2 separate regions of the Homo sapiens genome follow, and region 2 is linked to region 1. The links are contacts of gene promoters, found by promoter capture Hi-C in human tissues and cell types (Jung and others, 2019). All regions are on one chromosome and are shown on one strand. Each heading gives the region's core, a stretch centred on a gene start or on the middle of the fragment in contact. The rest is flanking DNA. Distances are from core to core; before and after follow the strand shown.

Region 1 (3,996 bases), core at 1,099-3,598:
CTATTAAACAGAATACAGAGCAGAAGTTGGGAGCTTTTGTTCTGAAGTCTTTACATAATATTCCAAATATCCAAGAGAATGAACAGCCAGTGTCCCCAAACTACTAATGGGTGAAGGCAGATGGTGTCTCAGAGGGGACAGCAAACACTCCTGTAAAGACCGTCTGTCACTTCCTCAATGATACAGGTTAACTGTGGTCAAACTGTATTCACCCAACTCCAGTCCCCAAGGTCAGAGCCATGCTCAATCCAAACAACTCCTCCTCCTCCTTTCCCTTCAGTTATGAGTAGGGAAAGAGAAGTCTAAGACACAAATGTTGAAGTGTTGAAGATACTTATCCCCTCTCCAACAGTCAACACTAAACAACAACCGAGATCCCAGAGCAATAACTTACAGTAGAAAGCAAAGCACTGTAACAGGGTTGAGTATGAGAGCAGCAGGAAAACAATTCTAGAGGCCTTAAAATCTAGAAATGGAACATGCTTGCCCCGTACAACCCCGAAGTACTGGTGTTTCTTTTAAAACATCTGATCGTATATTCCAATAGTTCCACCCATACCACATTTCTGAGTTTTGTACTTGACAACTGAAATACAGCTCGCTGTGGGGGCTGAAGGGGAAGAGAAAAATATAACACAGGAAGTATTTTTCTCCTCCTCCAATCATTGAGACACCCCAGGGGAAACAGACCTGAGGCGTCACCTTTAGAGATTGGTTTGACCTGAAACCCCTGTGAGAGGAAAACCTTGTTGGTGACCCTGCAAGACCGGCTCACACTTCACTGCGGACCCACCCATCTCATGAGACCTCCCAGTCCATTGTGTTTAACTTCTGAAGTCGATATTCTCACTTGAATCCTTATTCTCCCCACCACCACACCCCTTAAAGAAAGAAAAGGGATGGGCTCCCCCGGCTCAAGGATAATGTTTCCTCAGACTGCCCATCACGGCGCGAGTCCAGGACAGCAAGTGGCCCTCTCTAGGAGGCGGAATCAGCACGGGCCCGGCCGCGGGTTACAGACTCTGTTCACAATGATCAGCCGGGCCGCGGACACCGCCGGCCTCTCCCCGGAGCCGCCCCGCGCGGGCGTGGGAGGGGGCCAGCTGAGGGGGCCAGCTCCGGGATCCAAATAATCCCGCCCCCGCAGCCGGGGGACACCCAGGACCCTCCCGCCGCACACCTCCTGCCCGGCGCGCCCCAAGGCGGCCCGGCTGCCCTCGCGAGGCTCGGGGAAGTGAAATCACACATTCCGGCTCCCAAATAAGGAGCGAGGCTAAATAAACCTCTGCGATCCGACTTCTCCAAACCAACCGACCAACCGGCTCAATGAGTAATGGGCCTTTTGTGCCCGCAGAGAGAGAAAAAGGAGGGAGGAGAGGACGGGGAACCACCAACCCCAAAATCACTTCCTTGAGATGGAGTGAAATTAGCAGAAGTCCCGAAGCCAACCGTTCTGACTCGGCTGGATCCCGCTCAAACCCCAAAATGGCAGGGTCCCCTGAGTCCCCAGGAGCGGGTCCCAGGGCTCCCGCCCGGGAGCGGCCGGAAGCGGTCAGGGAGGCGAGGGCGCTGGGACCCGCCGCCCGCGCCGCACTCGGCACCGCCGGCCCGGCCGCCCCGCCCCGCCCCGCCGCGGCCACCCCTCCGCCCCGCGCCGCGACCCAGGCCGGGACGGGCACCCGACGCCGTGGAGCTCCAGGGCCCGGGACCGGCCCCGCCTCCCCTCCCCGGGCCCCAGACCTACTTTGAGGGCGAATTTCTCCTGGGTCCTCTTGTTGAAGATCTGCAAAACTTTGCCGTTGATGCCCAGCCCCAGGACCTGGCTGGTGACCTTGTAGTCATCGATGATGGCGTTCTTCTTGATCTGCAGGCCGGACTTGACGTGGAACTGCGGGAACTGCTGCGGGGGCGGCGGCGGCGGCTGCGCCGGGGGGTGCGGCAGGGCAGGGGTGGGGGGCTGCGGCGGCGGGGCCGGGGCGGGGAACGGCACCGGCGGGCTCTGGCCCTGGGAGTTGGACAGCATGGTGCCCGGGGACGCCGGGGCACAGGCGGGGGTGCCCGCGGCCGCCCCCTCCTCCGGCTCCGGGCCCCCTCCCCGCCGCCCCCCGACGGGCTGCGAAGTTCGCTCCGGGCTGGAGCCGGCTTCCCCGACCCGGCCCGGCTCCAGGCTCGGCGGGTCGCGGGGCTCCGTGGGTCCCACCGCGCGCCGCTGGCTCCCACCGGCCCGGCGCCCTCCCTCCCTCCCCCCGGGGGCCTGGCGCTCTGGGGACCGCGGGGCGGCGGGGGCCCGGCCGGGGGGAAGCGGCCGCGCGACAATGTACCCAGCCCCGGGCCGGCGGCCGCGTCACAGCCTCGTCTGCGTCCGGGGCCGGTCCTTAAAGGGGAGGGGCGGGGGGCGGGGCCTGGGGAGGCGTGGCGTGGGGGGAGGGGCGGGCCTTAAAGGGGAGGACGCGCGGTGCCGGGAGCTGGGAGGATCGCGGAGTAGGCTGGGGGCTGCTGCCTCGCGGACAGTGAGAGGGGACAGGGAGAGGGGACGAAGAAATGCTAGTTCTTAACCAAGGCTATGCAAAGGGAGAGGGGAGGCGTGTCAAAGGAGCTGCATAATTCAGATGGAAAATCCACTCCTCTCCAATTGTCTGGGCTTCTTAGCGGCAGCGAATTGGGAGAGGGGTGTATTTCCAAGGACAGGGATGGCTTGTAGGTATCCAGCTAGATGAGACCTCGTGGGGGTGGGGGGGAGCTGGAATCACAGGGGTCATTCATCCCAGGAAAAGGTGTGAGCCAAAGGCGGGCGTATTAAATATTTCCCTAACTTCAACATTTTCCTCTGAGGTTTTTTGCATCTCTTTTCTCATTAATTTATTGTTTTTCAGTAAAGACGTATTATTGTGTAACCAGGAGCACTTTAGTAATTATACCTTTGAACATGTTTTCCTGTAAATAAACTAAAAAGGATACAGGGTGGGAAGAGGATGGGTTGAGATTGGGGCCACCTGAATTCCCGCCATCCTTTGCCACGGATTGGCTGTGTGAGGCTGAGCAAGCCTTGCACCTCTCTCTCCGTGGGAAGAACAGCGAGACCTTTTCAAAGGTTGTGGGCAGAGTCAAAGGAGATAATGAAACTGAAGGGGAGGCCCTGGGGAATGGCTTCTGATTTCCGATGTGGAAAAATTAATCCGTAAGAAGTGGGTTAGCCCCGTGTATCTCAGGAAAAGCCCAGGGATCTAGCTGGACCCTGCATAGAAGCTGCCAGGAGGCCTCCACACACATTCTGATGGGGTTCGAGATGACCAAGTACATTCCTGCCGACCTCCTCCCACCTCTGACTGGCAGAACATTTGAGAAATGGCAAGCAACCCAGACAGGTGAACACAAAACCTCAGCTTAAGTCTTGGTAAGGCCAGTTAGAGAATGAGGCTTGACCTATGGCCACACATGCCCCCTAATAGGTCCCCCAAAACTCCAGAGAGAAGACAACACCCCCAGAAGTGGCCACTGGGGATAGAACTTAGGTAGGTAAGGGACAAGTGCAAATGTCTCTTCCCTCATTCACCTTTCCCAGAAGATGCTTGTGGAGGCAGGAATGAGGGGGAGGAGTGAGGGGTGGGAGTTACCCTCCCAACACTGTCCTTTCCTGGGGCAGGTAGGGCTCTGTGGACCAAGGAGAGACATGTTTCCCCCGACACAAACATATGCTCTTCTCAAGCAGCATCTGCTTAGCTCCATGTACAAGGTGCCGTGCTCAGCCCTGCAGCGGTGGATGGTGTTATCTGATGGGGAAGAAGACAGATAACAGTGGCACAGAGAGGATGGCAGACACCTTCCTAGGAGCCCGAAGCACAGGGATTCTCTTCTGTCTACAGCAGCCAGCAGCTTCCTCCCGAGTCTACAGGATAGATACGGTTAGACAGCTCCCCAGATGCCCCTGACTCTTCAAAGACAAAGACACTATCTAAGGCCACGGGGATAGGAAAACATCTTCACTCCACTACTTCT
Region 2 (3,996 bases), core at 1,039-3,538, 360 kb before region 1:
CTAGATGTGTAGCCATTTGCTTAGTGGACTAATCCGCAAGGCACACCCTCTAAAACTTAGCTTCACTACAAGATCTTCCAGATAAAAGTTTTCTACCTCTTTTCTTAATTATTCTGATCAGGGATGCTAAATTATAATTTGTTATGTATTATCTCACATAATGTGAAGAGGCTTAATGTGAAGTTTTGTTATTTTGGTCTCTTTTTTATTAAGTATCTCACTTAGAAATTCAGTGGTATACTTTAAAGCACTTGGATCTTTTTCAGCATATCTGCCTAGCAAATGTTTTAAAATTGACATTTATTTTTAGCACTTTCACTTGGTGAAGGTGGCCATATAAAATTAAGGAACATTTGAACAATATAAGAGAAAAGAACTTTTAAGGAACAATTCACAAAGTTTGTTTGAAATTGTCAGATGACATTTCTTGAGTACCTTTTGTGTGCATAGTTATTTTAGACAATATAAGCTGTTATGGTCAGCATAACTTAAAAGTGTTTAGTTTTCTATTTTACTGAGCCTTAAAAATAGCACTGATGAGCTTATGATACTTAATGTTTGGCAATCATAATGTGTTCAAATTAATGGGATTGAAAATCTCTCCACACCTGACTCTCATCTGATCTGGATGGTTTTGGTTTTGTATCTTTTTTACTTCTCCCAGAAAATACTAAATTTAAAACTGTAAATTAAGAATATACCACTAGATAACAATTATCAAATTGAGCTTTATGCATCATTACTCAGAAAGCTTGCCTTCCTTTCTTTGCTACTTCAGGACACAGAGTTGACATTTGCTTACTACAGCTTTAGATCTAGAAGTTTATTCGTGCAACAAATATTTATTGAGTAATTTATACTGTGCCAGGCATGTTTTGATATGTTTCTGTCATATGTTTTGATATGTTCCAACATAAGTTTCTGTCACTTTATATTCAGTATATATTTTCTACAGTGGGTAAATTTAACAAATGGAAAGGAATAGAACACTGATATTTTACAGAATTAAACCCCTTCATTGTAAGGGCTTTGTTTACATATTAAGTGTCAAGTATTTATTCAGGGGATCTTATTTCATTGTATTTTATCTGTTATCTAGGTTGTCCATTTACCGGTTGGACACTGATACTCTGTCAAATTCCTTTCAAAAATGACTCTTTAGTCTGCTGAAATTTAGCACTAGTACTTTAGTGTTCTGATCCTGGAAAATTCAAGGTGAAGCTTTATTTGTGGACCATCTGATTTAATTATTGAGGATTAAAAACCTAAACCTTTGCTCATTCTAAACTCAAGCTTTTAAGCCTCACAGAATTTACAGGGGTTTGCTTTTTGTTTGTTTGTTTTTTCATTTTTTACTGTGCTTATTAAACTCTTGGAATTAGTTATTAAAGGGAGTAAATTCTCATCTTGGGAATTTTGAAAATCTATGGACTTACAACTTTCAGGAGGATTAAATGTCTTAAGTTTTGTACTAGAGCAGAATGAAATCTTTCCTATTCATTGAGTTTTTGCCTGCCATAGAGGAATTTTTTTAAAAATTAAAATGACAGTTTATATTAGTGGCAAAGTGAATAAAGACCTCACTTTCCCACCCCACCCTTCTTCCTTTCTCTTACTTTTCTTTGGATTAAAGGTCAGGTGTAGTACTATGAAGATTCACTCCTGAATAAAGTGATTTCAGAAGCTAAAATTTAACATACCTGGAAATTTTGTGATGTGTTAGCCAAGTGAAGACATTAGTGTGTTCCATCTTTTGCTAATGGTTCATGGTTGATTTCTTCATTGTTTCCCATGAAATTAGCATAGTCAAGTGGTACCCTTGACGCTTGACTGCTGGTCAGTTTGACCCTGTTTTTAACAACTAATGTAGTCATGCCGCTTGATTATTCCATGAAGTCCCAGCAAAATAATAATGAGGAATTAACTAACATTATGTTATCTATCTAATTTGTCTGTGTCCCTAAATGCCCATGCCTAACTTGCTTCTCTAGTTTATTCCTTCTGTGGAGGGATTAAAACGTGGGTGTTGCAAGTTGCCCTAAGCTAAACATAGTTTTCTTACATCTTTTTGGGAAAAAAAATGGAATGGGAAGTATGCAAGATTAAGCAAGAGTGATTTTTTTTTTTTTTTGACAAATCAGGTGGCCTTCCTAAACATACTAAGAATTATGTTCTTTCATGTGTGGAGACACATTTGTTTGCAGCACTTTAAAAAATATATATGGAATAAAAGTTTACATGTTGGCCCTCTAGGGATCTAATTAAGGACATTAAAGTACAATTCTTGAGCTACTAACCATCAGCTCTTCTTAATCAAAGATTGCCATCAGTGTAGAGTGTATCTATTGGCACAACATTCTGGTGTTTTGATAACAGTAGAACTCAATTTCAGTAACTATTAGGAGCATGGTCTGTGCCCTAGCATTAAAAATGTTACTTATTATTATGTGAATATCTTGTATTATTATACAATGCAGTATTCAAATTTGTCCTTGTAGTGCAGAGATGACTGATAATTTCTAAAAGATTCGATCCTTAAAACTTGTTTCCAAGCAGACTTATAAGGAAGCTGATTTTTGAGTCAGAGGCCTTAAACGTGTCATATACAAGTGGCATCATTTTAAGTCCAAAGTGAAACACTTGATTTGAATAAGCTAGTTTATAAACTAAAGCTGTTTTCTTATGTTACAGTATTTCAGCACATTTCATTCCACATAAAAAGAATATTAAGTGTCCCTGGTTGTGGGAGAGTGTTTATTTTTCTCAAAATTATCTAGCATTTTGCTTACAGTGCTTTGAATGTTTGACTTAAAATTATTATTGATGTTGAATTGTAGGGTGCTGATTTAGGTCTTGATTCATACACATTTAAAGGAGGTTGGTAACCCCCTCATGGTAGAGTGAAGGGAGAAAAGGGCCAAGAAGACAAAGTACCACTGATAAAGAAGAGATTGTCAAATAGATGCATTCCTAGTCATGAATTACCCTTTTCCAAACATTTTTAAAGCAATGCCTTTGTGTCAACTCAACCCTTCTTCCCCATTTCTTGTCATAGAATGTAGCATGGCCATAGGTGAAAAAGCTTATCATTAAAGTATGAAACCATGAATTATAAGCATTTTGCCATGATGCCCTTTTATACATATGTTTTTAAAAGTACTAACCAACATATAGGAGTTTAGGAATGGTGAAGATATAATTTGATTAAGTTGTAGGTAAACAGAAAGGATCATCTTAGGCTCAGAATTTCTAATATGATTACATGAGTCTACTTTATAAACTGGTATAGGCTATGTAATTAGCCCGTAAGTTACTTAAAGGACCAGGGGACCTAATTTTTGTCAGTTTTCCAGTCACATTGGTGCCATTCAGGACTCCAGCTGTTTACAGGAAATATGTACTTAGCAGAATAGTATTTTTCCTTGAAAAAAATTTGAATTCAGCCTAAATACAGAATGAATATGAATAGTTTGTGAAAAGGGTTAGAGAACAACAATATTCCTATAGTTTCTGTATTAATGCAGTAGAGACAGAGGTTCCTAACGCAAAAAGAAAACCACAAGTAAAGACCGTCAAATTAGAGCTTTAGAATATGACTTGAAAAAGTAGGGATGGGCAAAACAGCATAAGAAAATATTTTTTCTTAATGCAGATGGACAGTGTTTTCTTGTTTTAAAAATGTTTTGCCTATTTGCCAGCATTTTTTGAAGTAATACACTGCTGCTACCTGGAAGATGTCTAACTTCATTTTCTACAACTCTTATGTGATTTTGCCATTGTCATTAAGATGCATTGATTTTATTTATGAGGTGTATGACTTTAAATATCTAAATGCTGTATTAAGTGACTTGTTTCAAAGGAATAAATGAAGTGAAAACGTTGTTTGAGTATATTTTGGGATCAGGGCAGATATGGCCACTGAACGGCTATTTTACTCAATATACATATTATCAAAAGCTTACCGAATCTTTAACTAAGGTACCAAAATCTGCCAAA

Evidence for each region. The method cuts DNA at HindIII sites, captures the fragments that hold promoters and counts their contacts. A contact is called where the count stands out against the background at its distance.
Region 2: a contact is called between a fragment that was not itself captured here and the fragment with the promoter of MAPKAPK2 in region 1, in 1 of the 25 tissues and cell types used here (adrenal gland).

The regions. Positions count from the first base shown.
Region 1 is chr1:206,683,257-206,687,252 of GRCh38, reverse strand. MAPKAPK2 (MAPK activated protein kinase 2) reads right to left here and starts at 2,348. Exons shown (of 10, transcript NM_032960.4): 1 at 1,745-2,348. The coding sequence starts at 2,023. LOC124904495 (a long non-coding RNA gene) reads left to right here and starts at 2,447. Exons shown (of 3, transcript XR_007066833.1): 1 at 2,447-3,512; 2 at 3,710-3,902. RefSeq lists silencers at 1,083-1,172, 1,583-1,672, 1,683-1,732, 2,193-2,372. The HindIII fragment of the contact is 19,561 bases long and covers 1-3,996 here.
Region 2 is chr1:207,043,733-207,047,728 of GRCh38, reverse strand. YOD1 (YOD1 deubiquitinase) reads left to right here. Exons shown (of 2, transcript NM_018566.4): 2 at 1-3,880. It also overlaps a transcript of PFKFB2 not described here. Among named protein-coding and RNA genes, the nearest start is that of YOD1, 5.5 kb to the left of the region's middle. The HindIII fragment of the contact is 4,320 bases long and covers 129-3,996 here.